7 separate regions of the Homo sapiens genome follow, and all the other regions are linked to region 3. The links are contacts of gene promoters, found by promoter capture Hi-C in blood cells and fetal thymus (Javierre and others, 2016). All regions are on one chromosome and are shown on one strand. Each heading gives the region's core, a stretch centred on a gene start or on the middle of the fragment in contact. The rest is flanking DNA. Distances are from core to core; before and after follow the strand shown. Region 1 has its middle 150 kb from the start of LZTS1. Region 2 overlaps ATP6V1B2 (ATPase H+ transporting V1 subunit B2). Region 3 holds the start of XPO7 (exportin 7). Region 4 holds the start of ATP6V1B2 (ATPase H+ transporting V1 subunit B2). Region 5 has its middle 140 kb from the start of SNORD3F. Region 6 holds the start of LZTS1 (leucine zipper tumor suppressor 1). Region 7 has its middle 120 kb from the start of SNORD3F.

Region 1 (3,229 bases), core at 656-3,155, 1.5 Mb before region 3:
TGAGGCAAAAGGCTGGCTGGAGGTGGGGACTTGAGGCTCCTCATCTTAGAGTGGTGTCCACATTGAGAGTGCCTAAGCTTTCCCCAGAGAGAAGGTGTCCAGGGGGCTGGGGACATCAGAAGGAGAAGCAACAGCCCATCAGGGAGTCGAAGAACAAAACAGAATGCCAGAAGAAGAGAACTGGGGCAGTGGGCTCTGCCTGAGCCAAGGACAGGAATGTAGCAAAGGAAACTGAAGGGCGGTGTTATGGACTGAATGTTTGTACTTCCCCCAAATTCACATGTTGAGGCCCTATTCCTTAATGTGATGGTGTTTGGAGGTGGGGCCTTTGGGAGGTAATGAGGTTTAGATGAGGGTGGAGTTCTCATCATGAGATTAGAGTCCCCTTAACGAGAGACAAAGCTCTCCCCTGCTGCCCAAAACCATATGTCAGCCCTGCGAGGACACAGGGAGAAGGTGGCTGTCTAAGCCAGGAAGCAGAAAACATGACCAAGGCTGGGACCTTGATCTTGGACTTCCTAGACACCAGAACAGGGGGAAGAAAAAAGTCTGTTGTTGAAGTCACTGGTCTCTGGTATGTTGTTATAGGAGTTCACTAGGGTGAACCCATTTCCTGATTCCTCTGGGACCAGGAATTCATTATGAAGAGCTGTCTTCAGGGGAGAGTTGGGGCAGATGTTTGGCTTAATAAATTAAGGAGTAAATAGGAGACGTGGAAATAGGAGCTGTGCATGAAGACTATTCTTTCTTTTTTTTTCTTTTTTTGAGATGGGGTCTTGCATTGTTGCCCAGGTTGGAGTGCAGTGGCCCAATCTCAGCTCACTGTAACCTCTGCCTCCTGGGTTGAAGCAATTCTCCCACCTCAGTCTCCTGAGTAGCTGGGATTACAGGCACCCGCCAGCATGCCCAGCTAATTTTCTGTGTTTTTGGTAGAGACGGGGTTTCACCATGTTGGCCAGGGTGGTCTTGAACTCCTGATCTTGTGATTCACCTGCCTCAACCTCCCAAAGTGCTGGGTTTACAGGTGAAAGCCACTGGGTCTGGCCGATTGAAGACTATTCTTTAAAAACCTTTGGCTGAGAAAGAGAGGGAAAGAGTTTATCCAATAGCTACAGAGGATCAAAGTATCTAGGAGGTCTCTATGAAATGTTTGTTCTGGGGCCGGGCACTGCATCTCGCTTAATATTCAACTGAAAAGTCTTGGTATGAAGGACATTTCCATATCCATTGATGGTCACTGCTGAAGGGACGACTGAGTATCTTACTCCATTCCATTTCCCTGTAACTCCATTGATAACTTTTGTTTAGAACTCAATGCCAGGAAACAGTTGTTTCTTCTGAATAAACATGCTCTCTTTCTTTCATCTGACAGTAATGGCTTGCAACATGTTATGTTCCTTTTTTTACTTTGCCTGCTAGGAAGCCCAGAGGCCAATTTATGGCTAGCTATAGTGAAGAGTCTGTTTCTGGCTCTTGGCACAAAAATCTCCTCCTTTGCCTAGATGATTTCTGATTCCTTTTACATCTTTATTTTATATTCACATGTATACAAGTACAGTTGTTATGTTTTTTTAAATGTTCAATATAAGTTTATTGAGCAAATAAAACCTGCAAATGGTGATTTTCTTCATAAATTGAAGTACTTCGATTGTCATAACATGTGTTCTGCACGTAGTTTTTGACCAAATGTGAAATGTTTCTACAGTTAAACTTCAAATGCGAGTCATTATGTAAATATCATTTTATTTTAAGCTGTAGAAAATCCTTCCTGAACATAGGGAGGGTATAAATCACAAAAAACGGGAAGAGGCTTAACCTCTCTGCATCTCAGGTTCTCCATCTGTGAAATGGTGATAACAGTTCCTGTCTGCCTGACTCAAGAGATAATGGATATGAAAACAATTTGATGGGAGCAAAACATTACACGAAGTCAAAGTAACATAAATAATATATTGCTTTTTGTTGTTGTTTATATTCCTCAAAATGTGTAGCATGAGTCCTTGGCTGATGTATGGAAAATGGAGCTTGGAGTGAGAGTGGTCTTCATGAGACTTTTTGACAGTCCACAAGTCAGTGCCTTATTTTCAGAGGGTGATTGGCGTTTGCTGTAGGGTAAGGCTGACTGCCCATCTATGGGGTTTCCCAGGTGTTTGGGGTGGGACGAGAGTGAGGGGGATCAATGGTTAAGAGGTAACCTGCCTTCCTTGTTACGCCGGATGGCAGGCCTCTCTCCCTGGGATTTTCCCAGCAGTCTTTACGGAAGGCTCTTCTGCTGGAAGTTACAAAGAGCATGAGGTGATGTGTGTGGGAGAAGCAGTGCTGAGGTTGATGAAGAGCCGCCAGCCGCCTGCAGGCCTGGAGGGGGCCATTTCTGCGTTGCTGTGCGGTCTGCAGGGTGATCGAGGGAGAAGGGATGACGGATGGGAGCAGGGCTTCCTCCCTGCCTTGGTCTGCTGGTTGGCCCATCACTCACACCCCCTGATGGACTGCCTCCTTCCACAAAGGCAGGGCTATAGGGTGGGTTATAGATGAGCTGCTGTAAAAACTACTTTTTCTAATTACATTTTTGAGCTTGGGATGTGGCTGTCCATGGGAGGTGGGAGGTGCCTGATTCTGGAGGAGGAAGTGGAGAAATAAAGTGAGAGGAGAGTGTGGGAGGTTCTTGGGTTGTGTCGATAACTCTATTTAAACAGCTAAGAAGCATCTCTGGGTTTCAGGACTGGCTGTGGGTGAAACCATGACTGGGCTTTGATGATCTTTCCTGGATTCACTCACTTATTCACTCAACAAACACCTCCTGAATGACTACAATGCGTGAGGCACTGTGTACAAGGCATTCTCTAGACAGAACTTGTCGTACTTTATTTTGCATGTGAAGCACTCATGGATTTTTTTTTTTTTTTTTTTTTTTGAGACAGAGTTGCTCTGTCATCCAGGCTGAAGTGCAATGGCATGATCTCGGCTGACTGCAGCCTCTGGCTCCTGGGTTCAAGTGATTCTCCTGTCTCAGCCTCCCAAGTAGCTGGGACTACAGGTGCATGCCACCATGCCCAGCTAGGTTTTTATTTGTTGTTGTATTTTTAGGAGAGATGGAGTTTCACCATGTTGGGCAGGCTGGTCTTGAACTCCTAATCTCAAGCAATCCTTCCACCTTGGCCTCCCAGAGTGCTGGGATTACAGGCGTGAGCCATCAGACGCAGCCACGAATTTTGTTAAAACAGAGTGTGTT
Region 2 (3,263 bases), core at 424-2,923, 1.7 Mb before region 3:
AGATTCAACAGGCATAAAATTATTCTGCCAAATTGCCCTGAAAGTTTCTAAATGCTTATCTTGCTTTCTGTGTGATCATTGCATGTTGATAACAGTTGGTCTGCAGACCGTGCTGTGAGGAGCACCGCTGTAGCACGCTCCTTTGAAGATGTCAGAGTAGCACTTAGAAGTTGGATTTCATAATGCTTTAGGGTTCTAGTTGATTGTAGGTGAACATGCACACCTATAGTCTGGTATCCATGTCTCTAAGGGAAAGATCGTTTATCACCATTCTTATTTTGTGCAGTGCAATGGACTCCTGACTTTGTGACCTTCAGAAATTGTTTAATTTTTCTGACCCTTGATTCCAACTGTTAATTGGAGGTAGCACCTTCCTCATAGGGTTGCTGTGAGGATTAAGTTAAATAATGTTGTAAAGCGCAGCAGATGATTCCTCGTGTACATTTCCTTCCCTTTTGACCTTTTTGGGATTAGGTTAGATAAATATGGCTAGTTCCACCACGTGGAATAAATCTTGTGAACCAAGAATCTTTTCTGTTTTAAAATTAACTTCCTTTGATTTATAAAATTGCAAACAGATTTTCTTCTAGCAAACTATTTGAAAACTTACATTATGGCAATACGATTTTAGCAAAAACCTTCTGGTGCCCCATTGTCAACATTTTTGTTACAGAATACTTTGAATTTATGTTGCCGGGAGATTTTTCTAAATCATTCTTAAGGACAGTATTTAAAATGAACATGATGGGATTTTCAACTTTGTACTTTGGCATGTTGAAACAAACATGTTGTAAGCAAGCTTGTTGTAATATCGTGCATGATACTCTTCTGCTTGACCTGCTGTCAGGTTTCAGCAGCCAGGGAAGAGGTACCTGGTCGACGAGGTTTTCCAGGTTACATGTATACAGATTTAGCCACGATATATGAACGCGCTGGGCGAGTGGAAGGGAGAAACGGCTCGATTACTCAAATCCCTATTCTAACCATGCCTAATGATGGTAAGTTTTGGTATTTGGATTATAACACACCTAATCATTTTAAAGAGAGAGAAGACCCATCTACCTTTTCGAGTTGAAGTTATTTTGAGAACACATCCCCTAAGAGTTTATCTTGGTTATTTGCCTAAATAAAACATTTTTCATTTGAAAATTACCCACAGTTATTATCCTATTGTGGAGGAAAAGCAATTTTCTTCATAATTTAAGTTTTTAACTTTATTAGGTACTATTGAGTGCCTGCTGTTTGCAGGACACTGTTCTAAATGTAAAGAATTTTTGAAAAGAATTTATGGTCTCTACTTAATGTAAGTTACTCAGTCTAATTGGGGATGTTTTTTATGTGTGTGCACCGGTAATTTAACATGGCCATGTTCAGTGCCACATGAGGAGTACAAGTGGGAAACTCCACAAAACTGAGAGACAGATTTTTTTAACCAAGGGCTGGTTAAAAATGACTTTCCAATGCCTGTCTGTGTGTGTGCCCAGGATGGGGTACGACTATTCAGAATTCCTCTCCTGTGTTGCCTCTTTGTCCTTATTTCAGTTTTTGAACAACACTTTGACAAAATATGGTAAGTTATTACTTACTGTAATTGAGCACTGTTCTGAGTGCTTTATAAATATTCACTCATTTGCTCCTCATAGCAACTTTGAGGCAGATGCTGTTTGAGGCACAGGGAGGTCAAATGATTTGTTGAGATTAGCAAGTGATAGATTTAGGACCCAGTTTGAGTTCATAACTCACACTGTTACTCTGTACTGCCTCTGACGTGAAAATGATTTGTTCCAAGGGAGTAGCTACAAAATGATGTAATTTAACAGATTTGGAAATGTGTTGCTTTGTGTGACCTTTTTGGTGCAGCCTGTGTAGTGTTGTTTACTTGTCTATATGCCTGCGTTTTGCATGGTGAAATGTTGTGTATCCATCCGACATAGCTTATGAACTAAGAATGTTCTTAGTATACATCAGGTTGGCAAATTTCTATAAGGGAACTTTGGGTTTAAAATGAAACTTTACTTATATTGAGAGGGGAGAGCGCTTACCTAGGGGAGAGAGTATTTTTAATGAATGCAGCCAGTTTACCTCATAGAGCCAACACATGTCTAACTGCTGCAACCAAACTAAACTGGCCAGTATGGTTGCCGCTAGCCACATTTGGCTGTTTAAGTTCAAGTTAACTGAAATAATTGAAATTAAGTTTTTCAGTTTTGTTAGCCACGTTTCAAGTGTTAGATAGCCACATTTGGCTAATGGCTACCGTACTGCACAGCACAGACACAGAACATTGGCAGCATCACAGAAAATGACTCTAAGAACACTCTTCTAAGTAATGTTACAGGTAGTACAGAGGGACTTTTTGTGGGTTTGGTTCTGAGAGATGGCCGCTTTAAAACTCATAACCTAAAGATGCCATGCTTAATGCCAACTGTCTTCCTCTGGTAGATATCACTCACCCCATCCCAGACTTGACTGGCTACATTACAGAGGGGCAGATCTATGTGGACAGACAGCTGCACAACAGACAGGTACTGGACGGGAGCAGTGCTGGGAAGCTTGCAGACCTGCTCATCCGTTATTCTTTAGTGACTTGGATTTTGCTCTTAGGAATTGCTTTGCTTAGAAAGTATCAACTTGAATTGTTTTTAATATGGTTATAAAATTGTCATTTCTATTATCTTAAATTCTGGTGTCGGCAGAGCGCCAGAATTAAGAATCTTCTTAACACTTTCCTTTATTGTGTCTTAAAACAGAGTCACTTGTCTCCAAGAACTTTTTTGGGAATTCTGTTCCATAATGGTATCATCTACCAATCTTGTTATTGATAGAAAAAAATGACTTTTCCATGCCTCTCTAGTAGATGCTGACTTCTAAAATCAGCTTTTAGGAATTATTGTTAATTTTTTTTATTTTGTGTATAATTTTTTGAGTCAGTTCAGAAGACCATTTTGACTCGATAATGTGGTAGTACTTATCAAACAGATGTTGAAAGTTGAGTTTTTTAAAATAGTCTTGTACAGTGTTATAGATGACACTTTTTTGGATTTGATTCTCGAAAGAAATGCTATGCTATAAAGTGTTTCTTACTACCTTTTCTTGCCAGGAAGAGACAGTAGGATTCATCTAGGAGACAAATGCAGCGGTTGTCTTTGATTTAAGTTGTAATAATGAGTTTCAAATGTTTTTTTATTACCAGTAAAACTTGAGTTTTGTACTTAAATATAGTATTTTTTCCCTCTCATTCTACCCAAGATTTATCCACCTAT
Region 3 (3,082 bases), core at 424-2,923:
TGACTTGCATGTTGGGGACTGATAAGACTTGAAGAACCAACTCCTGAGTGTTTATTAGGAGCAACTGGATGAATGGTGGTACCATTTACTGAGGAAGGGAAGACACAGGGAGAAACACGGGGAGGTTGGGGTGCGGGGGTGGGGGAAGGGAGGGTGGACAGAAATTTGGGCCTGGCCCACTGTGAAACTGTTACCTCTATTCAGTCCAGTAGGGAATCCAAAGAATTTCCATTGCAATTGTGACTCTGAGAATATTTCATTGCCCGATGCCAGGTTCAGAAAGCCACTGACCCCATCACCCCGCCTCTTTATACGCTCGGAGCTAATGATTGGACGCTGGGAGGTTTTGGGGAAAAACAAAAACCCAACATCTGAAAAGGTCTATGCTCGCTAGAAGTTAACAGTCAAAAGCTCTGCCACTTAAATCTTCTGCCTCTTAAATCTTCTCTGAGTCAGCCTAATTGGCAGAGCCTAATTTGCATACAGAACCCTAGCTGCAAGGAAGTTTGGGTAATGTAGTTTCCAGGTGCCCTACCTCTGCAAACCAGGAAGACCTACTAGGAGGACGGAAGTCGAAATGAATGCTGAGCACCGGTCCACTACATCCACCAAGGGTGTGTAATTCACTACCACCATCATTTGCATATGATGGTAGTCCCCTGTAAATACAAACTTCAAACAATCAGTGCTCTCAGAATCCAGCTATGATCTAACCTGGGGGCCTTAAAAGGAAGCCACAGTGGAATCCAATGGAAAACAGGAACCGGCATTATCTAACAGATAATTCCTAGTGAGGAAGACTGGAATTGGCCTCAGCATGCAGGGGCTGACCTTATCTGACCCAGAGAGATGGCTTTCCCACTCATACCTCCACAAGACCGAGCCTAGGGGTCCTAACCACCAGCCCCGCTGCCTCTTCCAGCATCTGACCCTCTCGGGAGGCAGTCTAGAGTATTGGCAACGAGGACAATGTCTTTGGGAAGCCAGAACTGTGCCTTCGTATGTTTTGATCATCACCACCATTCGGTGGTTATTTCCATGAATGTTTATCAAGGACGAAAGGACAGAAATGAAAAACACGAGATCAACCACTGGGGTTGCTGGTGAAATCCAGACCAGAGAGCGATGGCCCTGGTCCAGAAAGCTAGACAGACACAAGCACAGAATCGGCCCCCGTTGAGTAGAGGGCATTGGAAAGTAAGGAATCTCGCAGGCAGCCTAGGTGGGGTGTGGGGGGTCCCCGTAGCTGCAGGGTGGGGTGGGGGTGGGGGTGGGAGACGTCCAGGGGCGAGTCAAGGGGGAAGACGGTTGGGAAGAGAGGAAGCCACTGGGTGCAGGGGTCCCGGGGCGGCGACAGACCTCGGCCCCCATCCAGGAGCCCTCACCACGCAAACGAGCAGAAGGCAGCGCCAACTCCCACTCCAGCGCCCGCCTGCCGGAGCGAGCGCGGCCCCTTTAAAAACCATGTAAACAAAGCTTTGTTCCCCCAGCTGCCCCTCCTTCGCGCTCCCCCGGCCCGCTCCTTCCTCCCACCCGGCGTCTCCGGGCCGCTGACGTTGCCCGCGCCTTTACGCCGTCCCAGCGGTGCTGCGCATTCTCCAACCACGGCCCGGGCCGCCGGGGCCTGCGCAGCTGAGCGGCGCTACGCCACGAGCGCAGCGCGACGAGTCCCCAGCGCGCAGGCGCAGCGGCGACGGCGTCGGCGGCGGCGGCGGCAGCGGCTCCGGCCGAGGTGCGCGCTGGGGGGGAGGGGGGGCCGGAGAGGAGCATGAATGGAGCAAAATGGCGGATCATGTGCAGGTGAGAGGAGCCGCGGGGGGGAGGGGGCGACCACGAAGAGCGGCGAGTGGAGTCGGGGGTGCACACGGCCCACAGGGCGCCAGCCGGCTCGGGACTCGGCAGGCCCGCGCCGCCGCCACTCGGGGCTCTGGAGCCGCCGCCCGTCCCGGAGCCCCGGGGCCTTTCCCGCCTCCCGGGCCGGGGGCCTTCTCCGTCCCCTCCCACCCGGTCCCACACCTCGCGCGCGGGGCTGCAGGGACAGGAACGGGCATCCCGGCGCGCGCAGCCCACAACGTTCGTCAGTCACTGTCTTCGTCCCCGGGGGAGGCCTCCGTCAAGTCCTCGGGCCCCCCCGCCCGCCCCCCGGTGAAGCGAGGGGGACCCCCTTGCTGACTTTACTGAGGGGGACGCCCCCATGACGCCCGCCATCCCTCAGCAGATAACAAAAAGGAAACCTCGCGCTGATAAACCTCGCTCTCCGGAGTCTTTCCCGCCGCCTTCCTCTCACGCCCCGGAATACGAGAGACCCCCCAGCAACCCCGGCCTCCTTCCCCCTCCCACGGATGCGCCCTTCCCTCCGACACTCCAAATCGTACAGCCCGGAGGGCCGAGCTCCCCGGTCTTCCAAAATGGGTGCTCAGGCCTCGGCCCGCCTCCCCTCGCGTCCCCCTAGCCACAGTGAAGGAGTTGAGCGCCCACACCTCCTATGAAACACGGGGTGGAGGGGGGTGTGTCTGAAATGAGAGATGCAGGGTTGGGTGCAGACGTTGCTCGGGAGGGTCTTGATCCGGCTCAAGAGCTGCTCCTAGCGTGCTGTGGGGCCAGGCCACTCTCCTCAAAGACAGGCACAGGCCCTAGAAAGGGACAGCCCATACCAAACCCAGTAGCAGATGGAGGACTGCAGGGTTTAATTTCTTGCAAACTAGATAAAGTTTTTCCTGTCTGTGCCAGAGATCTGATATTTTTATGACAGTTATTGATGCACATCCATTGTGGGGAACCTTCCAATTTTCTAGGTAACCAAGTGCACAGGTTTTGTGTTGTGGCAAGGAAAGATTAGAGGGCAAGAAGTGTCGCCTTTATATTCTGTGGCATCATTCCTCAAGTAAGAAGAATGATCTCATTCTTAATACGTCTACAAGAATCTGGAGTGGTGTGACTTCTGCCCCTTTCTTTGGAGAGAAGGGACTAAATAAAAGACTTAATTTTCAGGCCAGAGATCAGTAAAGTAGATCTTCGGAGTGTGCGGGACAAGTTGTCAGGACAGAATTATAGCAAGAAACGTAATCACAGGTGGAAAACC
Region 4 (3,414 bases), core at 596-3,095, 1.7 Mb before region 3:
TAGATCAGCACCCGATACACATGTGCATTTTCTCAACAGATGTTTGTTAAATAAATGTTGGGGTTACCACTCTACGTATACACATTAGACCACAACTAATTTCTATTACCAGAGTAAAAAGTTAAAAACAGGTTTTTTTTAAAGTAAAAGCCATGAACTACTCCTAAAAGAATAACATAAAAATTGTAACAACTAACAGTCTGATATTCACATATGAAATTTACCTACCATTGTGAAAAATTGGCATGAGAAGACTAGATTTGTAATTTTTATTAAAAAAGTTGTTATGCATTGTATTTGAAAAAATCAGTACAAACACCTGTTAAAGCAGTGAAACTACATAGAAAGATTATTAAATTAAAAATAAAATTTCTCCTACTGTTCACATGTTAATCTACTTTACATGGCATTTTGCAATTGCTTTTTTATTTTAAACCTAATAATGTGTCTTGGACTTTTTTTAAAAAAAAAAACTCAACCCTTGAGCCTCCACTGAATTCTTTTCAAAAGTTTGAGAAATACCTTTGACTTAATAGGCTATAACTTATGAATGGGCATTTAGATTGTTTCTAGGTTTATGCTATTACAAAAATTTTTTTTGAATATCTGTGTGTATGTATATATACATGTATATGTCTGTAGACCATATATAATAATATATACCATATGGTGCATGACGTAATGTATTATATATAATGGAAAATATTTGTCACATACACTGAGTGGATAGATAGATACAGATATATCTACAGAGAGAGAGAACGATAAGTTCCTAGTACCAAAATATTTGAATGAGATATCACCAAATTGTTCTTCTAAATATCATACCAATTGTGCTCTTATCAGTAAAGTATTACAATTCCTGTTTAATTTTACACGTGCCAACTTTGGACATTAGTTAAACTTAAAAATTATAATCTTCTGGGTGCAGTGGCTAACGCCTGTAATCCCAACATTTTGGGATGCCAAGACGGCGGGATCAATTGATGTCAGGAGTTCGCGACCAGCCTGGCCAACATGGTAGAACCTCGTCTCTACTAAAAACAAAAATTAGCCGGGCGTGGCGGTGGGCACCTGTAATCCCAGCTACTTAGGAGGCTGAAGCAGGAGAATCGCTTGAACCCGGGAGGCGGAAGTTGCAGTAAGCCGTGATTACGCCACTGCACTCCAGTCTGGGCGACAGAATGAGACTCCCTCTCAAAAGAAGAAGAAGAAGAAGAAGAAGAATCCATTCCATTGCTCCGGCCTCCAGCCTGGGCTGTCATCCTACACTAGTCCCACCCCTTACACAGCTTCCAAATCTGCCCCTATTTTTCACACCGCTACGCACATCCTATAACAAGCCAATATATGTTTGTCGAATGGATACATGCGTGAACGAATTGGGTAGGGAGTAAAGTGAACTAAATGATGCCACATGTGTTAATAATCACTGAAACATGTTTTCCATTGCTTCTGTTTTTCAAAGCGGTTTTCACAGCTTGAGTTCTCTCCATTCAGCGTCACGAAAGCCCATTCGAAATGGATATCAGCTGACGTTGGCCTGCACGCGTTTGCCTTCCTCCCCTCACTCCGCTTGTGCGCCTCTCTTTCGGCTGGCTTTCCTCTCTCCTTCCATCTCCCCTCTTTCGCTTCCCTTCCCTCTGCGCCCGCGCGCGCCTCCCAGCACGCTGGTCAGCTCCTCTTGCTCGCAAGCAGGTCTGGCCCCAGCGGCGCGAAGTCACGAGGCTGGGGGCGGCCGGCGGCGAAGGGGGCGGGGCGAGGCCGGGGCGCCGCAGCGCGCATAGGCGGAGCCTCGGGCCGCGGGCCGCCTTGGTATATCTGCGCGTGCGCGGCGTCGCTGCTGGGCCAGTCGGGACAGAGGAGACAAGATGGCGCTGCGGGCGATGCGGGGGATTGTCAACGGGGCCGCACCCGAGCTACCCGTGCCCACCGGTGGGCCGGCGGTGGGAGCTCGGGAGCAGGCGCTGGCAGTCAGTCGGAACTACCTCTCCCAGCCTCGCCTCAGTGAGTATCAGAGAGTAATACGTCTCCGGTCTTTGCTCCCTAGCCTAGCCCTTTGCTCCCAGTCACCTGCTTAGCCAGCGGGTAGGGGGTAGGATTTGTTTTTCCCTCCCGCGTCTCCCCTCCGACCCTGACCCACTTGTCTCTTTAGAAGGAGATTTGCCTGTACCTAATATTTCCAGGAGATGGGCTGAGGGCAAGAGCACCAGCGGGAACTTTTTCCTGGGGTTGGTGGGCTCCTGGCTGTTGCCCTACCCCCTCCCCTCCCCAGCTTCCCTAGGCTGGAGCCTTCTTAGGCACTTGCTTCCCGTCCCCGAGGGCCACTTCTTGCCACTCCGATCTTAATCTTCCCCTGACTTCATTTGGATATCTAGGGGTCGAGGGAACGCCCCTTCTCCCCTCCCCCTGGTGAGGACCTCAATGGGGTCTTCAACTCCTGCGGAGGGCAGACGGTAGAGCCTTCGCTGACGTGGTCAGGCCTTTCGTGGATGGAGGTCAGGCCAGTAGCCAGAGGGAGATGTGGCTTGGTGTTTGGTGGAGGGGCTGCTCCGCAGAAGGACACCTAGATATCAGAGAACGCTAGAGCTGAAAAGTACCTTGCAGGTCATCCAGTCCAACCCTATCATTTTACAGGTGAGAAGCCTAAGGTTCTGGAAGGGGTAGGATTTGCCATGCTTCAGACACTTAATTATTGGCAGAGCAGGGACTAAAAATCCAGGTTCTTAAATTCTCGCTGGGCCTTTTTCTACCGTTGCCTCTTCATTTACTGACCAGTTAACCAAACTTGGTTGAGTGCAGGGTTCTTTGGGGAAGCCAGGTGGCTTTGCCCATAGGTGGTGTGTGTGCATAGGCTTGTTTAAATGTTGTGATTTTTTAAATAAAAAGGCCTTAATGAACTAGGTTTAAGTGGATAGCTCAGCAATTCCAAAAGAAATGGTTCTTGATTACTAGAGAATGCAGTTGTGTAGCATCCAACTTCTTCACAGCTTTCTTCGGAACTGGCAATGAGCCCTCGAAATAGACTTTTTAAAAAACTGGGAAAAGCACATGATGTTTCCCCAGGTGGTGAGACTGCATTTTCACTGGTTAATTGCCAGAGTGTCTGTCTCTAGGTGGCCGACTGATTAAAAAGGATTTCAGATGAAGGGTGTTAGTCTGGGCGATCTGAAGCCTGACTAATCCACATCCTGATCTGTCACTGGGTCATGTGATAGCACTGCAGTGTGAAGAAAAAGGAAAACATTTGATTCGGTGGATTGCTGAGATGTGCCTTTTACAGTAACTGGGAATTGTTCGAATTAGAAAATGTATGTTGGGACTTATCTGAGCTGAAGTAGCTACTTCAGGAAATCGGCAGATGTTGCATTCTTATGCAAACCTTGGCAATAAATTTATACCTACGAATTACAA
Region 5 (3,153 bases), core at 597-3,096, 1.4 Mb before region 3:
TCTCAAACTCCTGACCTCGAACGATCCGCCCAACTCAAACTCCCAAAGTTCTGAGATTACAGGCATGAGCCACTGTGCCTGGTCCAAACTCTCTTGTATAGAGGTTATACCAATTTATACTTCCATCAGTAACAGATGAGAGGCTGGTTTGTCTTCACCCTCACCATCTTCCTTAACCCCTCTGGAATAGGTTACATCATAAAGATTCAGTATGTTTAAGGATTAAATTACATCTCCTGCATCTCCACAGCAAATGATTCAAAATGTCCTTGATTTATTTAGGATCCCAGAGAGGTTTTCTGACCTTACCCAGCAGATACACAGGCTCTGTCGTGGGTATAACAGCCATCAAAGCAGCGATGGGTGGTGGCAGCAGCAGCAGCACTCATATGTTGAAAAATCAAAATAAAACCAGGCCAAGCCTGGTCTTTTCGGTTCCTGCTCACAGTAAGAAGGGAAAGGCCCAGGGGCCTGAAAATCCTCTGCTGTGGAGATGCAAAGGGAGATCTGTAGTTTGCAGGTGTCTGGTGACCTTCTAGTCCTGCAGGCAACATGGGGCAGGACGCTGCTGGAAGCTTGTGAACTTGGCCAGGTGGCTGGGCCTTCAAAGGCTTCCCCTACAGCATCTCTTTCTGTGCCTAGCAGAGCCCAGGGCTCACACAGCGGGAGGTACTGCATCCTGGCTGCAGGAAAGTGCCTGTGAAGCCAGCTTGGAGCTGATAGAAGCAGTGAGGTGTTGGCGTCAACTCTCACCTGCAGGTTTCTGGTTCTGACTTTTGGCCATTTGGTGGGGCAGTCTTCTCCCAGGAGTGCACAGATCTGCCTCTCCTTGGTTCAGGAGAGTGCAAGAGGGAAAAAAAAGAAAAAGCAGTGAGGGTTCTAGTAATGGGACTTGCTTCCCAAAATTTGGAGAAGAACACTTCAGGGATACAGGGTTTCCCAGAAAGCAGGAATTCTGTGCCCTCTTCATGTAAAACTTCAATGGCTTTTAGTAAGAGGCTCCTTCATGCACGTACGCACGCACTCACTCACTCACTCACTCACTCACCCACTCACTCAACTCCATATTTACTGAGCACCTGCTTTAAGCAATGCATGTTTTAGGTATGAATTTCCAGGTCTTTCAGAATCTGTTTCTACCCAGATCTTGGGATGCTTGCCGATTGCTAGCCCATTGCTAGATGCCAAGTTCAAGCCCCTATGCACTTTCCTTTGTCAAAAAACCCCATCTCACTCTACCCCAATCTCCATTGCTTACACAACAAGTCCCAGCTCCTGGATCTGGCTACAGGATCCTGAATGTTCTAGCCCACATTTCCCACGTCAGCTTCCTGTCTTGCCAGTTCTTGCCTCAGACTCTGCAATCTAGCCTCAATGAAACTATTTCCACATGTTCATTCACATATTCAGTCATTTATTTCTTCATTTTTATTGTGTACAATATGCTAGGCACTGTGTTAAGTGCTCTGGCTATATCTGTGAAAAAAGGTGGCAGGACCGTACCCGCAGAGACTTAACTTCCAGAGACAATAAGTGAGCAAATAATTAACCATTGCAAGTTGTGATGTGTCTTGAAGGAAATAAACTGGGTGATGTGATAGAGAAGAGTGGATTAAGCCTGGCCAGGAAACATCTTTCCAAAAGAGGCGACAGGGAAGTAGGTAGCTGTGCTAAGATCTTGGGGACCTACCTCCTGAGCAGAGGGACAGTTAGGGCAAAGGCCAAGGCCTTGCTCTGTCAACCTCAGGCCTTTGTTCATTGCTGCTGTTTTCTCTTTGGAACCTTCCCAAGCCCAATGTTCCTGATTCTGGTGGATGTCTCTTCCTCCAGGAAGCCTTCCCAGATCACTGCACACTGAGGGAGTGCCTCTGCTCTTGCTCCACTTGCCTGCCATGGTTCTTCATTCACCCTCTGTGCTGTAGGGTGCACCCAAGGCACCCAGCCATTGACTTGGGAAACTCAGCCGTAGCCAGATCCATGTCTGCTTTGTTTGCTAATGCAGCCTGTTGTAGGTTGAATTGGGTCCCCCAAACCAATATGTTGAGGCTGTAACCCCTGATACCTGTGAATGTGGTCTTATTTGGAAATGAGGTCTTTACCGATGTAATCAAGTTAAGATGGGGTCATACTGGATTAGGGTGGGCCCTAAGTCCAGCGACTGCTGTCCTGATAAGGAAAGAGAGATTTGGAGACAGAGACAGCCACTGGGAAGAAGGCCATGGGAACATGGAGGCAGAGATTGGGGTGATGTAGCTGCAGGCCAAGAGCGCCGAGGACTGCTGGGGGCATTAGAGGCTAGGAGAGGTGAGGACGGATTCTTTCTCTAGAGGACCGATTCTAAGAAGGGTTCTAAGAGGGGGCATGGCCCTACCAACACCTATCAACACCTTGATTTCAGACTTCTAGCCTCCAGAACTGGGAGAGAATAAGATTCTGCCGTTGTAAGCTAACCAGCATGTGGCACATTATTTCAGCAGCCACAGGAAACTCACACAGAACCCCAGGCCCTGGGGGACAAGGGCATCCTTGTCCAGCATTGGGCTGAATGAATGAACCCCATCAACTGCCTCCTCCTCTTATTTTTTTTTTTTTTTTGAGACAGGGTCTCATTCTGTCACCCAGGGTGGAGTGCAGAGGCATGATCACGGCTTACTACAGCCTCCATCTCCCAGGTTCAAGCTATTCTCCTGCCTCAGCCTCCCGAGTAGCTGTGATTACAAGGTGCCCACCACTAGGCCCAGCTAATTTTTGTATTTTTAGTAGAGACAGGTTTCACCATGTTGGCCAGGCTGGTCTTAAACTCCTGACCTCAAGTGATCTGCCCACCTCTGCCTCCCAAAGTGCTGGAATTACAGGCGTGAGCCAGCATGCCTGGCCCTTCCTTTTGTGCCCAGCGTGTGGCCTTGAAGTCCCCTGTGTCCAGCCAGGGATGACTCCTTGCAGAGCACAGCCTGCCAGGCAGGAAGGGGGCCACCCTCCTCCCTTGTGTTTGCATGTGGAAAATTCTTCTTGGCATTTCTTGGGAGAAATTTATATTTTTTGAATCCTGATTCCTGAGAAAAATCAGTCGAGAAGTCAGGAAAATGGGAAAAAGTATTATAAGTCTCTTGTGGGAATTAAAGCTTGTAATCAACATGCAGACCTTACAGTTTT
Region 6 (3,513 bases), core at 471-2,970, 1.6 Mb before region 3:
AGAAAAGCGCTGGATAAATACAAGGTGTAACGCCACGCCTGATTAGCCTGCATGCTCTCTGCCCACAGACTTCTACCCACAGACTATGTTCCACTCCACTCTTAAACACAAACACCTTTCCCGTCTGTACATGCTATCTCTAATACCCATATGCGCACACTCTTCGGGCACCTCCATTCTCCCTCTGGATGCCTGCAGAAAATTGTTTTTGAACTTAGAGAAAGCTCAGGTTGCAAACACCCTCTTGCCGGTACCCGCAGACTCTTCTCAGGGTCTTGGTGCAGGAACTGCCAAGCAGATAGCTCATCTCTTTGTGGCTGGGCTCCTGGGCTCCCAGCATTCCTATTAGGCTGCACTTCCAGCAGAGTGTGGGATCCTTATTAGGAGCAGCGCCTGCCCGGCATGGTCCAGAACTCAGTGCCTCCTCAGTACTTTCCCAGCGCCCGGGACCAGAGAGTAGAGGGGCTGATGGCAGCGGGACGGTGTGGAGGGAATAAGTGAGACAGGAAACACTTTAGGAGGCCAGATCCCTAAGCACTTCTTATTCCTGGGAAATTGAAGACTGCGAAGCTAACAAGTCTGGAGCACTTTCCCAGGCCTGACATACTCGTGGGCGAGCACAAGGCTCATTTGCTCCACAGTTCAAACCTTTCCACTTGGAGCACGAAAAAGAGACATCACCTGGCCCTTGGTGTCTCGGGGATGCCTGTTGCTGCCAAGCTGCGACCTCTGAAGCCCCTCCAGCCAGAGCAAAGCCTGTGGCAGGGTGGAGGGGTGAGGTCTGGCTGCCTAGGGTGGCGGTGGAAGAAGTGAAGGTAGTGTGGGGCTGTCTGTGTGTGCATGGTGCTTTGACTAAATTCCTGAATTGCACATCCAGGACCGACCCCAGGAAGCTGCAGCCCCAGGGAGCCACTTAGACACTTCGATTTACCACCTTCCTCTCTAACCACCTCCGCCCGTGTGACTTATTCCTTGAGGGAAACCTTTCAAATCTCTGGCTGCAACGCACCGGTGTCCTCCCCACCGGTGTGGACACAGCTCATCTGCAAAGTTCCAGGCGGCGAAGTTCAGCGGCCCGGACCGACCGCCGGACCCTCTTCCTGCGGCCCCTGCTCCTGCGGCCTCGCGTCCCCACCTCCCACTTCTTCACCTCCGACACCAGTGTCACCTAACACTGACGTCCCCGCCAGGATCAGCATCGGTGCTGGGAATAGACGAACCCCGTCTGCAGGAGACACGAAGACAAAGACAGGAGGACAGACGCACAGTCACCTCCTCTGGGCCGGGCCGGAGAAGCGGCGCCCACCCTGCAGAGGGGAGACCCTGACAGCTCCACGCGGAGACAAAGACACCTCGACAGCCACGGACACAGACAGACAAAGACCGACGGACGCGCGGACGCACGGACGGTCCGGCCCGGCGAGGGGAAAGCGGTTTCCCGCAGCCAGGGCAGCAGACCCTCCAGGGGCGAGGAGATCCCCGGCCACCGCACCTTACCTGCCCCCTGCGCCTCGGGCGCACTTGAGACTTTTTTTTTTTCCCAGTGTTTCCCGGTGTGTTCCCGTCTCTCTTTTTCCAGAGCTGCTGAGCGGGCCGGGCCGGTCCCACTGCGCGGGATGCAGCTCCCGGCTCCCACTCACTGGCCGAGGCGGGCAGAGAAACTTTCGGCCTCCCCGCCCGGCCGCTGCCAACCCGCCAGCTCCAGGCGCGCCGGCCTCTGCGCGGGTCCCGGAGCCGGGGCGGGGCGGGGCGGGGCGGGGCGGGGCGGGGCCGGCCCGGGGCGGGGCCAGAGCCGGCGCCGCTGATTGGCAGCGAGCTGCCGGCAGCCTGGTCTGTGCCGCTCGGCGGCCTTTGTTCCGGGCTGACAGCTGGGGCTGCTCGCGACCTCGCGGCTCCTTCGCGCCCGCGGCCTGCGCGGGGTCCCGGGTCCCGTCTCTCTGCTCTCACTTCCATCAGCCCCATTGGGCGACCCTGCCCCCTCAGTCTTCCTTTCTTGCCTGGCCCCCTTTCTCCGATTGTTCCTGTCTTGCTCTTGTCGCATCCTTTTTTCCCTTTCATTACCTGAAATTCTTACTCCAGTTTTGTTTAAAATCCATTCCTTCTCCCGTTCTGTGTATGTTCCCCTTTCTTCATTACCCCTTCCTCTTAATCGCCAGTTTATTTTTCTTAATACCGTCTCTCCCGCTCCCGACTCGCACTAAAGGGCGTGTGTTTTGTTCAAGGACTGGACTAGCACCCAAGTGAGGGGCATTGCGAACCACACCAGGATTACAGGCTAGAGTCCAGAGCACCGGGACTCCCACTCCCAAAACATGTCAAAAGCAAACTTTTCCAGCTCTGAGGGAGCTGAGTTTCAGGTGACAGCAGAGGCCTGTTTCAAGTTTATAGCTATTAGTCTCACCCAGTCCCCTTATAATACTATCATTTTCTCAACCACCCTCACTTTTAACTTCTAGCAACTGAGCCAGGAGAGGATTCAAGCTTACAAGGTTTTGTAGGACAAAGGGTCAGTTAACCGGAGTGCTAGGTGCAGCATGAGGCTTGGGGGCTTGAGGGTGCACTGAGGCTAATCCTCTAAAACCAGGCTTGGCGGGAAGATGGCAGCTCTGCCCAAGGAGTGTTAGCCTCATCTTGAAAGAAGCCTGTGTGTGTGTGTGTGTGTGTGTGTGTGTGTGTGTGTGTGTGTTGGGGGGTGGGGGATAGATGTAATGGATTAGGATTGACATAGCCGATCTGATTATAAATAGCATGGGGGCCGGACGCGGTGGCTCATGCCTGTAATCTCAGCACTTTGGGAGGCCGAGGTTGGTGGATCACTTGAGGTCAGGAGTTGAAGACCAGCCTGGCCAACATGGTGAAACCCCGTCTCTACTAAAAAAAAAAAAAAAAAAAAATACAAAAATTAGCTGGGTGTGGTGGCAGGAGCCTGTAATCCCAGCTACTTGGGAGGCTGAGGCTTGGGAATTGCTTGAGCCTGGAAGGCAGAGGTTGCAGTGAGCCAAGATAGTGCCACTGCACTCCAGCCTGGGTGACAGAGTGACACCGTGTCTCAAAATAAATAAATAAATAAATAAATACAAAAAAATTAAATAGAATTGTGGTGGCAGGGGGGACAGCTCAAAGGAAAACAAGCCATATGGTTTCTGCCACACCCCTGCTCAAAACCCTGTAGGGGAATCTCACTGCCTTCGGTTGTTGACCCTGAAGACTCTGACCTTCGAATCTAGGCTTCCTGAAAGATGGCACCGCGAGGGTTTAAGAACACAGACAGGCTTCGCTGCTTGTTATTTGAGCCATTACCTTCCCCTCCCTCTTTCTCAGTTTTTCTTTTTCTTTCTTTCTTTTTTTATTTGTGAAATGAGGTAACAAGTCCCAGTGTAAATTCCCTGAAGGCAGGAACTTGTTCTCTTTTATTGGTGGCTGAGGGACTTGGTCTGTTTTATTCATAGATGTATCCCCGACACCTAGAACTTGCCAGGCAACATAGTAGGCACTCAATATGTATTTGTTAAA
Region 7 (3,332 bases), core at 363-2,862, 1.4 Mb before region 3:
TTCAATGCACAATTATTGAAAGCCTGTGATGCACATGTACCTGCAAGGGATAGTAAGGTGCAGGAGTTACAGCTCCCCCAAGGATGATAACAGTTGCCTTGCAGCTTTCCCAACCTCCTCAGTGTGCAGGCCCCTCCCCACCTCTCCCTCCTGGTATCTCTACTGCACAGACCCATGCTCCATCTGAACACCAATCTCTTAGGCATTGCTATTTACATCTTCCTACATATCAGTTATGCCTCTCCATGTCAATTGTGAGCTGCTTGAGGGGAGAGACTTCCATATTCTTCCCTGTCCCCATACAACAGTTAACACAGGCACATGCCCTGTGCTCTCTAAGTAATTGCTAAATAAATACATTTTAAAGGAATGTTTGTGATCCTTGATAACACCGAGCAGTTTTCATTTTGCAGGCTGACACCTGTTGGAACCATAACATCAATTTTGCGGGCTGTGACATCAAAATGCCCCTAGTACGCATGAGTATTATTTGCTGAAACTTTCGTTTTTGTCTTAAATGCCTGTCACAGGCTGGGTTGTGGTTTAAAAATAAGTTTCTTACTTTTGATCATGGTTTGAAAAAAGAAAAAAAACAGTGACAGGATGCGTATGACAAGGCTCCTAGCTTGGATGCTGAGCCCCTTGTGGGCAGAATCAAAGACATTGGGCACCAAGACCTCCCAGCTGGAGAGGAAGCAACTGGTTTCAGAAAAGCTCTCCTGGGGTTGGGGCGGATTAGAAGACAGGCAGTCAAGAGAAGAAATGCTCAGGGGCCTGAGCACAGTCGCTCAAACTGCTTATTGTCTGGGCAACAAATAGGCACTGCAGGCGCACCTAAAAACCTCAAGTGTCTTTCCTTCAGAAAGACACAAAGCACTTAAGACCCTGCAATTGCTCAAGATTTTCCTCTAGGGATCCTTGTTTTCTCTAGAGCTTTAGATTGTAATAGAAACACCGTTGCCTTCATTCTTTTCTCACTTATTAAGCTGAAAAAGTAATCTGGAATCTTTAGCCTTTGGAGATTTGGCGATAATTTCTTGATGCAAAATTTGTATAGACAGCTTGACCATGATTGAAAGACCACATGAAAAAATCCTTGAAATTGAAATTGAAATCCTTGAAACTCAAAATTCTAGGACTGGAAATTCTTATCACCTATAGATGCTTTGAGGTTGAATTCAAAGTGTCATTGACCCAGGCACTGTTGGGAGTAGGAAGCCTTTTTTCTTAGGGAATTTGAGCCTCAACCTCTGTCTGCACTTTGCAGCATTGGCTGTGATGGGGCTTGTCTTGGCTGTGATGGGGCTTGTCTTCTGGTTCCATGTTCTGGACAAATGCTTCCACCTTTCTTTCTGGAACGCCTGCCTAATGTCTGGCTGTCTGCTGTTTGTACTCTGAAAACTACTTTAATTGGGAAGGTAAAATACAGTCTCAAATGCCCTTTTTGTGCCTTGTGAAAGCCCTCTAAAGCTTAGCTTAACTCAAAGAGCTTAAATCAATAGCACCGGCCCATTTTCTAATCACAGGGAATTTAATAATGATCAGGAAAGCCATTATCAGTCTGATCTGTGGGACTGTTTGGACTTTAACTCTTGGAAAACAGCTTCCTGTCAAACTTACATACTGTTATCATATAAAATGTCACTGAGAAGGGTATTAAAATCCCTCTTTGGAGAGAAAGCCTTATAGGGGTTCTATCAAAACTACTCTGTATGCTGATGAGTTAGGTGCTAGGAGAGAGAGAGAGCTAAAAACAAGCTTGGAGGTGGAAAGGAGGGAATTGTTCTCTTTTTGCCACAGCACACCCAAATGGAGAAGGGGAGGCTTCTTGGTGTCTGGGTCTGTAATTCAAGAAGTCCCTTGAGACACCTCAGCCCAGGGGCTGGAAAGTTCACGTCTATCCGCTGAGGCCTGGGAAGCCTGTTGGGGCCCCTGAAGGGAAGGGTGAGAGGAGAGCAGCCATGTCGCTCCATGGCTCCTGGCAGAAGTGTGAGGCTCCTGGACTCTGGTGACTTAGCCCCATTTACCATCACAGAGACATATAATACAGGCATTTGCCTACTTAGATCCCAGCCATGTGAGTTTTGGAAGTCTGCTGAGGTGAATTTCAACCCTGGTTACCATAATGCAGTTGGGCCTTTTGTGAGTTGAATGTGATGTTGTTGTTTTTAGGGATTAAATGTTCAGAGAGAACCACTGACTTGGGGTTAGATGGTTGGCCTTTAACAAAACCCTAAAGGAACAGGGTGTGAACAGTTACATAACAAAAGATAAGAGGAACTACTTGAAAAGCTGAGTTGGCCAGCATGGTGGCTTATGCCTCTAATCAGCACTTTGGGAGGCTAAGGTATAAAGAGCACTTGAGCCCAGGAGTTCGAGACAAGCCTGGACAACATAGTGAGACCCCTCATCTCTATAAAAAAATGTTAAAAAAATAGCTTGGTGTGGTGACACGTGCCTGTATTCCCAGCTATTCACAAGGCTGAGGTGGGAGGATTGCTTGAGCCCAAGAGGTTAAGGGTTGGCCAACTCTCTGCACCTGGGTTCTTCCAGCAGCCAAAGACTTGTAGAGAAGAGAAATGAGTGCATGTGGGCTCCGGGGGGCACATTCCTCCATTGTGTGCTCACATCAGACAGTCTCCACGATCCCAGCCAGCTCCTGGGGCTGTGACCTCCTGGGGTCCAGAGTCTTTCCTGAGCCACTGCCATGAAGCCAAAGTCCCCAGAGTGAAGCTGCCTGCACTGTGTCCTATGTCACCAGCCCTGGTTGCCCTACTTGACACAAATGGAGACCCCATCTCCATCTGACTTGTTTAAGGTCTTAAGTCTAAAACCTCAGCATCTTCACAACTCCACTTGCCTTATCCCTCCCCCACCAGATCCCCCCCCTCCAGGACTGCTAATCTCTCCTGCTGGGATGCACGTGCTCCCACCCCACATTTTGCAGGTTTTAACCCCTTTGGCTCTTTCAGATAGGCCTTAACCTCCTTAAGAAACTTATAACACATGGAGAGCGAAGGCCCAACACTGATTTTACATATTAGAAACTCAAACTCCGAGGTGGTCCGTGAGACCCTGTGGCTGGTCGGTGGCAGCAGGTGCCCAGGACACTGGCCTGGGCCTTATTCCTGGCCTGTGTGCCTTCTGTGTACCACCTGCCTGGGATGTCTCCATGTTGTACATAGAGAAGACTCTGGAGGGGGCCTTAGTACAAGCTTTGTTGCCCCAAAACTGAGTGATTGAGGGAAATACTGCAATCCCTCTGGTCTTCCTTTCTTTTTCTGTAAAATGAGGATAATCATGTCTAATTTGAAGCTTAAATGTATTTAGTG

What was found. Contacts are between HindIII fragments. The CHiCAGO score rates a contact against its expected background, and 5 or more counts as called.
Region 1: a contact is called between a fragment that was not itself captured here and the fragment with the promoter of XPO7 in region 3, in 2 of 17 cell types (naive CD4 T cells and non-activated CD4 T cells). The highest score is 6.4, in naive CD4 T cells.
Region 2: a contact is called between a fragment that was not itself captured here and the fragment with the promoter of XPO7 in region 3, in 1 of 17 cell types (endothelial precursors). The highest score is 5.9, in endothelial precursors.
Region 4: a contact is called between the fragment with the promoter of ATP6V1B2 here and the fragment with the promoter of XPO7 in region 3, in 2 of 17 cell types (fetal thymus and naive CD4 T cells). The highest score is 7.8, in fetal thymus.
Region 5: a contact is called between a fragment that was not itself captured here and the fragment with the promoter of XPO7 in region 3, in 1 of 17 cell types (naive CD4 T cells). The highest score is 6.4, in naive CD4 T cells.
Region 6: the fragment with the promoter of LZTS1 here is called in contact with the fragment with the promoter of XPO7 in region 3 in 1 of 17 cell types (fetal thymus); the score reaches 5.1 in fetal thymus.
Region 7: a fragment that was not itself captured here is called in contact with the fragment with the promoter of XPO7 in region 3 in 6 of 17 cell types (naive CD8 T cells, naive CD4 T cells, total CD8 T cells and 3 more); the score reaches 20.6 in naive CD8 T cells.

Annotation. Positions count from the first base shown.
Region 1 is chr8:20,450,350-20,453,578 of GRCh38, forward strand. No RefSeq gene overlaps it. Among named protein-coding and RNA genes, the nearest start is that of LZTS1, 150 kb to the left of the region's middle. The HindIII fragment of the contact is 3,660 bases long and covers 76-3,229 here.
Region 2 is chr8:20,213,971-20,217,233 of GRCh38, forward strand. It overlaps ATP6V1B2 (ATPase H+ transporting V1 subunit B2), which reads left to right. Exons shown (of 14, transcript NM_001693.4): 10 at 848-998; 11 at 2,443-2,525; 12 at 3,250-3,263. Among named protein-coding and RNA genes, the nearest start is that of ATP6V1B2, 18 kb to the left of the region's middle. The HindIII fragment of the contact is 1,753 bases long and covers 798-2,550 here.
Region 3 is chr8:21,917,989-21,921,070 of GRCh38, forward strand. XPO7 (exportin 7) reads left to right here and starts at 1,674. Exons shown (of 28, transcript NM_015024.5): 1 at 1,674-1,800. The coding sequence starts at 1,783. RefSeq lists a silencer at 1,591-2,030. The HindIII fragment of the contact is 3,017 bases long and covers 1,475-3,082 here.
Region 4 is chr8:20,195,536-20,198,949 of GRCh38, forward strand. It overlaps ATP6V1B2 (ATPase H+ transporting V1 subunit B2), which reads left to right and starts at 1,846. Exons shown (of 14, transcript NM_001693.4): 1 at 1,846-2,007. The coding sequence starts at 1,872. RefSeq lists a silencer at 1,620-1,899. The HindIII fragment of the contact is 6,568 bases long and covers 1-3,414 here.
Region 5 is chr8:20,476,097-20,479,249 of GRCh38, forward strand. No RefSeq gene overlaps it. Among named protein-coding and RNA genes, the nearest start is that of SNORD3F, 140 kb to the right of the region's middle. The HindIII fragment of the contact is 2,547 bases long and covers 574-3,120 here.
Region 6 is chr8:20,302,243-20,305,755 of GRCh38, forward strand. LZTS1 (leucine zipper tumor suppressor 1) reads right to left here and starts at 1,721. Exons shown (of 4, transcript NM_021020.5): 1 at 1,498-1,721. RefSeq lists a silencer at 1,711-1,780. The HindIII fragment of the contact is 16,584 bases long and covers 1-2,479 here.
Region 7 is chr8:20,492,821-20,496,152 of GRCh38, forward strand. No RefSeq gene overlaps it. Among named protein-coding and RNA genes, the nearest start is that of SNORD3F, 120 kb to the right of the region's middle. RefSeq lists an enhancer at 536-1,074. The HindIII fragment of the contact is 288 bases long and covers 1,469-1,756 here.